2 separate regions of the Homo sapiens genome follow, and region 1 is linked to region 2. Evidence: promoter capture Hi-C in human tissues and cell types (Jung and others, 2019). All regions are on one chromosome and are shown on one strand. Each heading gives the region's core, a stretch centred on a gene start or on the middle of the fragment in contact. The rest is flanking DNA. Distances are from core to core; before and after follow the strand shown.

Evidence for each region. Contacts are between HindIII fragments. The study calls those that stand out against the background at their distance.
Region 1: a contact is called between a fragment that was not itself captured here and the fragment with the promoter of PGLYRP1 in region 2, in 1 of the 25 tissues and cell types used here (aorta).

The regions. Positions count from the first base shown.
Region 1 is chr19:46,429,604-46,433,199 of GRCh38, forward strand. No RefSeq gene overlaps it. Among named protein-coding and RNA genes, the nearest start is that of PNMA8C, 2.5 kb to the left of the region's middle. The HindIII fragment of the contact is 8,299 bases long and covers 1-3,596 here.
Region 2 is chr19:46,020,674-46,024,311 of GRCh38, forward strand. It overlaps PGLYRP1 (peptidoglycan recognition protein 1), which reads right to left and starts at 2,380. Exons shown (of 3, transcript NM_005091.3): 1 at 2,062-2,380. The coding sequence starts at 2,348. RefSeq lists an enhancer at 988-1,873. The HindIII fragment of the contact is 20,258 bases long and covers 1-3,638 here.

The DNA of each region.
Region 1 (3,596 bases), core at 445-2,944, 410 kb after region 2:
AGTGCAGTGGCCCGATCTTGGCTCATTGCAACCTCTGCCTCCCCAGTTCAAGCGATTCTCCTGCCTCAGCTTCCCAAGTAGCTGGGATTACAGGCATGTGCCACCAAGCTCAGCTAATTTTTGTATTTTTAGTAGAGATGTAGTTTCACCATGTCGGCCAGGCTGGTCTTGAACTCCCAACCTCAGGTGATCCATCCACTTCGGCCTCCCAAAATGCTAGGATTACAGGCCACAGCCATTGCACCTGGCCGCGAAAACATTCTTTATACTATATTTGCAACTCTTCTGTAGGTTTATGGTTGTTTCAAATAAATGTTTAAAAATAAATAAGAAATGTCTCCCCCATGTGATGACATCCACAATGTCTATTCCTCTCCTCCCCAGTCCCCATTAATAAAGCCAAAACATTTGGGTTAGGTCGACACCCTTTATACCCCCAGTTCCAGGGATAAGCCCTGATTGGCTTGAACCAATTAGCATAATCTCACCCTCCTTCCCACAGTGATTGGTTCAGAAATGGTCACCCAGGTAACCTGGACAAAAAGCAATTAGTGCTTAATATGCCCCTCTTCTCTGAGATTGGTTAAAGGTTAGACACGTGAACTCAGTAAGTCCAGTCAGAATGAAGGTAAGGATTTCTGCAACTGGTAAGCGGAGGAAGACTCTCTCTTTCCTCCTAGACGTGAAAGACTAAGTATAGGAGCTACAGGAGGCTGTCTTGGAAGCATGACAAACTCTCTTCCTTCCTTCCTTCCTTCCTTCCTTCCTTCCTTCCTTCCTTCCTTCTTTTTTCTTTCTTTCCTTCTTTCTTTCAGACAGAGTCTTGCTCTGTCGCCCAGGCTGGAGTGCAGTGGCGCGATCTCGACTCACTGCAACCTCAACCTCTCAGGTTCAAGCAATTCTCCTGCCCCAGCCTGTAAAACAGCTGAGATTACAGGCGCCCGCCACCACGCCCGGCTAACTTTTTGTGTTTTTAGTAGAGACAGGGTTTCACCATGTTGTCCAGGCTGGTCTCAAACTCCTGACCTCAAGTGATCCACCTGCCCCGGCCTCCCAAAGTGCTGGGCTTACAGGCATGAACCACCGCGTCCAGCCAATAAACACTTTGAGGATGAACTTTGCATCTAGAGGAAGGCAGAGTTGAGGGAACAACCAGAAACCAGGCCATAGTCAGGAAGACATCATATGCCTCAGGATCAAACAACACCTGAAACCGACATCCCCTGAAACTTTGTTTTTACACGTAGTCAGAAGTGCACGAATTATAAATGAAAATCCATTAACTGAACACATGGTGTAACCAGCACCCAAATCAGTAAATGAACATCATAGCATTCCCAGAGGATATCCTGTGCTTTCTCCAAATCACTATATCCTCTTAAGGGAAGCCACTATCTTGACTTTCAACAGCATAGGTTAGTTTTGCCTGTTTTTGTATTTTACATAAATGGAATCACATATTACGTGGTCTATGTTTCTTGGTGAACATATATGTACATATCCATTAGTTTTAAGCCTGAACAAATGCCTTAGCAGATTCTACAAGTTTCCCAAACTGGTCGTACCATTTTATTCTCCCACCAAACAGTGTAAAAAAAAAAAATCCAGTTTCGCCACATGCTCATCAATACTAGATTTTTTTTTTTCCTGAGATGGAGTTTTGCTCTTGTTGCCCAGGCTAGAGTACAATGGCACGATCTCGGCTCACTGCAAGCTCCGCCTCCCGGGTTCACGCCATTCTTCTGCCTCAGCCTCCCGAGTAGCTGGGACTACAGGCGCCCACCACTAGGCCCGGCTAATTTTTTTGTATTTTTAGTAGAGACGGGGTTTTACCGTGTTAGCCAGGATGGTCTCGATCTCCTGACCTCGTGATCTGCACGTCTTGGCCTCTCAAAGTGCTGGGATTACAGGCGTGAGCCACCGCGCCCGGCCTGATGCCTCCGGTTTTATAGTCAGGAAAACCGAAGATCAGAGAGGTTAATTCACTTACCTAAGGTCACACAGCTAGTGAATGGCAAAGCTAGACTTCCCGCCTCAGCACCCTGACTCCTGGGCGCACAGATTTAACATTATACAATACCATGGAGTTCCCTGAGAAAGGGGTCCCATATTGTGTCACGCGGCTTAGTTCCTGTTCTGTCGTGAAGTTTCTGGATGACAGTTCCCTCTCTGGGCTGTATGTTGATTTTGTTCAGTGCCAGTTTAGCTAAGCTGGGCTTGTGTGTCCTAGAATAGCTTTCTGCAGGTGGCTGTTGGTTAGAGTCGTCTAAAAGAGAAATGTGCATTAGATTTACACAGCGGCTGGTGCTGTGAGAAGGTCTGCACAGGGTGCCACATGGCTCATGCATTTCATGACTGGTCTGTGGGCTCACCTTATTGGCTTGGGGCAGCCTCTGGGACTCCACCTGCTCCTGCCGGTCTCCTTTTCAGCGTCGGTGAACTTGGGGCCAGCACCGGAGCAGCTCTGTGGGGGCAAAAGGCACCAGCTTCCCCTGCAGGTCAAGCGTGGAATTGAGGTTGAAGGTGGGAAAAGAGACGTTGGTTGGGGGCGGGGGTTCCAGTTTGTCTTCAAGGATTCTAATTTTTTTTTTTTTTTTTTTTTTTTTTTGAGACGGAATCTCGCTCTGTTGCTCAGGCTGGAATGCAATGGTGCCATCTCTGCTCACTGCAACCTCCACCTCCCGGGTTCAAGCGATTCTCCGGCCTCAGCCTCCTGAGTAGCTGGGATTACAGGCACCCGCCATCATGCCCAGCTAATTTTTGTATTTTCATAGAGATGGGGTTTCACCATGTTGGCCAGGCTGGTCTCGAACTCCTGACTTCAAATGATCCGCCTGCCTCAATCTCCAAAAATGCTGGGATTGCAGGAGTGAGCCACCGCACCTGGCCTAGATTGTTCTTGTAGGTTCCAATTTGTCCTCTCTGTCCCGGTTCAGTTTCTAAATTGCCCAGCAGACTGGCCTACAGAGACTTAAAACCCAATACTAGTCACAGAAAAAAAAACTTTGATACACCCCTCCTCCAGCAACCCTAGCGCTCCCTGGTTAGTAATTTTTTTTTTTTTTTTTTTTTTTTGGAGATAAGGGTCTCTCTATGTTGCCCAGGCTGGTATCAAACTCCTGAGTTCAAGTGATTCTCCCACCTCGGCCTCCCAAAGTGTTGGGATTACAGGCCTGAGCCACCACGCCCAGCCTCAGTAACTTTTAAACAAGATCTCGCCATCCCTATATTATTATTATTATTTTGCCATCACGAATATAGTTTATTTTTAAATTTTTAATTTTTAATTGTGCGGGTACATGGTAGCTGTATATATGTATGGGGTTCACAAGATATTTGATACAGGCATGCAATGAGAAATAATCACATTGTGGAGAATGAAGTCGCCATCCCCTTAAGAACTTATCCTTTGTGTGACAAACAATCCAATTACATTCATTTAGCTATTTTGAAATGTACTATTATTATTAACAATAGTCATCCTGTTGTGCTATCAAATAGTATGTCTTATTCATTCTTTCTATTTGTGTTGAGTATTGTACCCATTAACCATCCCCACCTCCCCCATCCATCCCGCCGACGACCCTTCCCAGCCT
Region 2 (3,638 bases), core at 1,130-3,629:
GCACATCTGATTGAGCGTGTCTGACTTGGCAAATGGGAATGAACTAGAAGATCAGTGCCTTGGAGCTGCAGTATGTGCCAACTCAGCCCCCGCGCTCACAGTGTCATTAATGACGCACAGAATGTCGGAACTTCCGAATCTTGAGTCCCGAATCTGCTGCTTAGGAAGCCAGCTCCCAGAATCTGGCCCCAGTGATGCTGGCTGCTGGGACTGGCTGGTTATGGCCCTGCTGGTGATGCTGGCTGCTGGGACTGGCTGGTTATGGCCCTGCCATATTCCCGGAGCCTGGCATGATGGTGCTGGGGTCGGGGGTGGTTGGTTCTCCCTGGTCATTTGTTGCATGAATGCATCTCATTGAAACCTCAGCCACCATCGCCAAGCGGGTACAGTCAGAAGCCCCATTTACAGGTGAAGAAACGAGGCTCAGAGAGAGAAGGTGACGTGACATGGAAAGGGGATTCAGAACGTTAGAACCAGATTCGGAATCCTAAAAGCTGAGGGCCAGACAGCGGCTGCTTCTGTATGTGGTGATGTGGACCCGAGGCTCGGGCCTTCGTGACCTCATGGGAACACTTAGGATCAGAGCGCCTGAGTCTTGGAAACAAAATGTTGAAGTTGGAGTCTTTGATAAAATCTTGAACTGGAAGGGCTGGGAATACCTTTGGACACTTCTAGACTTCTCTGGGTGGGTTTTGTGTGTGTGTGTGTGTGAGACACAGCCTTAGGAGGTCCTGAGAACATGTGTCCCCTGGGTGGGGTCTATTGAAGTGGTCTCTGGGGACCTGCATGTTCCTCCAATAAGCTCTGCAGGAGATTCTGATGCTTACCTGGGTCTGAGAGCCTGCAGGATTGAAAGTTCCCTCCCTGTGGAAACCGTCAGGCTGGACTGCAGCCCATTCTAAGGAGGAGGTAGCTGGTAGGCGTGGCCCCGGACCTGCTTCAGCCTGCTTCAGCCGGCACCCCTTACAGTCTGTTCTCCCCACAGCAGCCAGAGGGAGTCTCTTGTACCTACACTAGCCCTGGTCCCTGCTCTGCGGGGGGAAGCCTCCCATGGCTCCCATCTCGGAGTAAAAGCTACAGTCCTCACTGTGGTCCACAAAGCCCTGCCTGGTCCTGCCCTTTCCTCATTTCATTCCGCTCGCCCGGCTGTGTTCAGCCACCCTGTCCTTCCCACAGGACCCGCCCACTCAACCCCGTTGGCTTTGCCCCCAGCACCCCCTGCCACCTGCAGGCCTCTGTCTGCTCCCCCATCCCAGAGCCAAGGCAGCCACTCTCAGGGAGGCTTTCCCTTGCCCCACCCTTCCAAGGAGCCTGTGTGGGTCTGGTCCCAGCCTGAGGTCACCCTCCCTCACCTCTTTCCTTTTATCCATCGCCTCTATCACCGTCTGAATTCACCTGTGGCCTTGGCTTGTTTCTCCCTGCTGGTCTTTCAACCCCAGGAGGCTAGAGTGGCACCGTTCTCCATGCCACATCTGGCACACTGCCTGGCACATAGTAGGTGCCTAATGGTAATAGCCCGTGGCTTTGCGGGCCCCCGTGTGCCAGGCAGTTCCTAGGTGCTTTGCCTGTATTGGCTCATATAAGGAGCAGATGGGCCGCGATTCCATTGACTTTGCCGAGGAGGAAGCTGAAGCCGGGAGGACCCGCCCCAGGCCTCAGCCAGCAATAAGATGAGCTGACCCTGGAACCCAGCTCCGCACTGAGTCAGCCTGGTTTTCCGCCTCCTAACAAAGGCACCAGGCATCAGGAAGGGGCGCCTTCATAAGGCGTCGCGGACACCTTGGTGTGTGTTAGGCAAAGCCTGCCCCTTCTTCCCGGGAGCGGGAGCGGGGCTTGGATTTCAGCCCATCCCCCCTTCTCACGCATCTTTGTGCTGTGAGCACCTGCCCCGGCCCACGTGGTGACCCGAGGAAGAAATGACCTTGTGAGGTTCAGTAAGCTGCTCAGGGTGTCAGCCAGGTGGCCTCAGCACCAGGCCTAGAAATGGTCCCGCTGGCGGGCACTTGCACACCTTTGCCTCTGGGATCCCCAGTCCAGCCCGTGCCCCCCTGCCACACTCACTTGTAGCCCACGTCGCACCAGCCCAGTGTCTTCATGTGGTAGTGCTGCACATTCCGGGCCTGCTGCTGGCACGAGGCGGGGGTGTTGCAGCTGCTGCCCGCCGTGTGCGATACCACCACATAGCGTAAGGGCAGGCTCAGGTGCTGGGCGCACTCTGATGCCAGGGCCTTCCACTCGTTCCGGGGCACTATGGGGCTGCAGCAGGCCGGGTCTTCTGTCTCCTGAGCCGCTCCGAGTCGAAGGAGGCTGGGGAGAGCCCAGGCAAGCAGCATAGAGCGGCGGGACATAGTGGCAGGGCGGCAGGGTCCGGGAGACCGCTAGGAGCGCCCGGTGGAGGGGCCGCCTTTATCTGCTGGGGGATTCCAGGAGTGGCCCGGAAAGTCTTGCTTCACACCCTGCTGGGACTTCCTGCTGGCCCAGCAGACCCCAGACTCAGCTTCCTTCTCTGGCTGGGCCAGGGCGGGATGCACTGTGGTTGGGGTCTGGGTCACGCCCACGGCAATGACAGGCCCCCTCGCTCAGCAGGGAGGGACGCACAGGCCCCTGGGCGCTTCGCCCCGCCGTTTCTGGAAGACCCGGGGCCGGGATCCCGGTCCTGCTTGTCTCTCCTCTCAGTGGAACATTGAACAACTCAACAGGAACTTACATCGCAGAGGCCCGGGGCATTGGCACATCTTCTCCCCGCAAGGACTGAGGTAACAAAGCTACCCATTTTAAAAACACTTCCTTCCCCCAGGTCCAAGCCTGATGCCATTTACGCTTGCAGCAAACTCAAGAGGTGAGTATCTGGAAGTCCATTTCACAGTGGAGTAAACTGAGGTTGAGAGCAGGGAAGTCACGGGCTGAGACACCGGAGGCACTGGAGCCCCGCGTCTAGAGCCAGGCTGCCTGCATGTGAATCCTGGATATGCAGTGTGTGAGAGCCTGCAAGTGGTTTTTAAAAATGTGTATTTAAAATTTTTTTTTTAATTTTCTATTTTATAAATAATATTTTCCTTTTTTTTTTTTTTTTTTTTTGAGATGGAGTTTTGCTCTTGTCACCCAGGCTGGAGTGCAATGGTGCGATCTTGGGCCACTGCAACCTCCGCCTCCTGGCTTCAAGTGATTCTCCTGCCTCAGCCTCCTGAGTAGCTGGGATTACAAGTGCACACCACCACGCCCAGCTAATTTTTATATTTTTGGTAGAGACGGGGTTTTGCCATGTTGGCCTGGCTGGTGTCGAACTCCTGACCTCAGGTGAGCCACCTGCCAGTGTTCCAGAGTGCTGGGATTACTATAGGCATGAGCCACCGTGCCTGACCTGTGTGGTGTGTTTTCATCTTCTGTGTTCTGCCTTCTCATATACATTGTACTCATGCTGTTACTGAATTGTGCACCAGGCATCTGTAGCACTTTTCAGAAATTATCATATACTCAACGACAAGCTTGCCAGATCCATGTTATTATTAACCCCTCTTACAGTTGACGGAACTGAGGCCCGGGGGGATGATCACATACAGGAGGTGATGAAGCCAGGGTTTGGCTACAGGCTTTCTGCCTGCAGAGTTATAAACCGTATTCTCCTCCCTACAAACTTA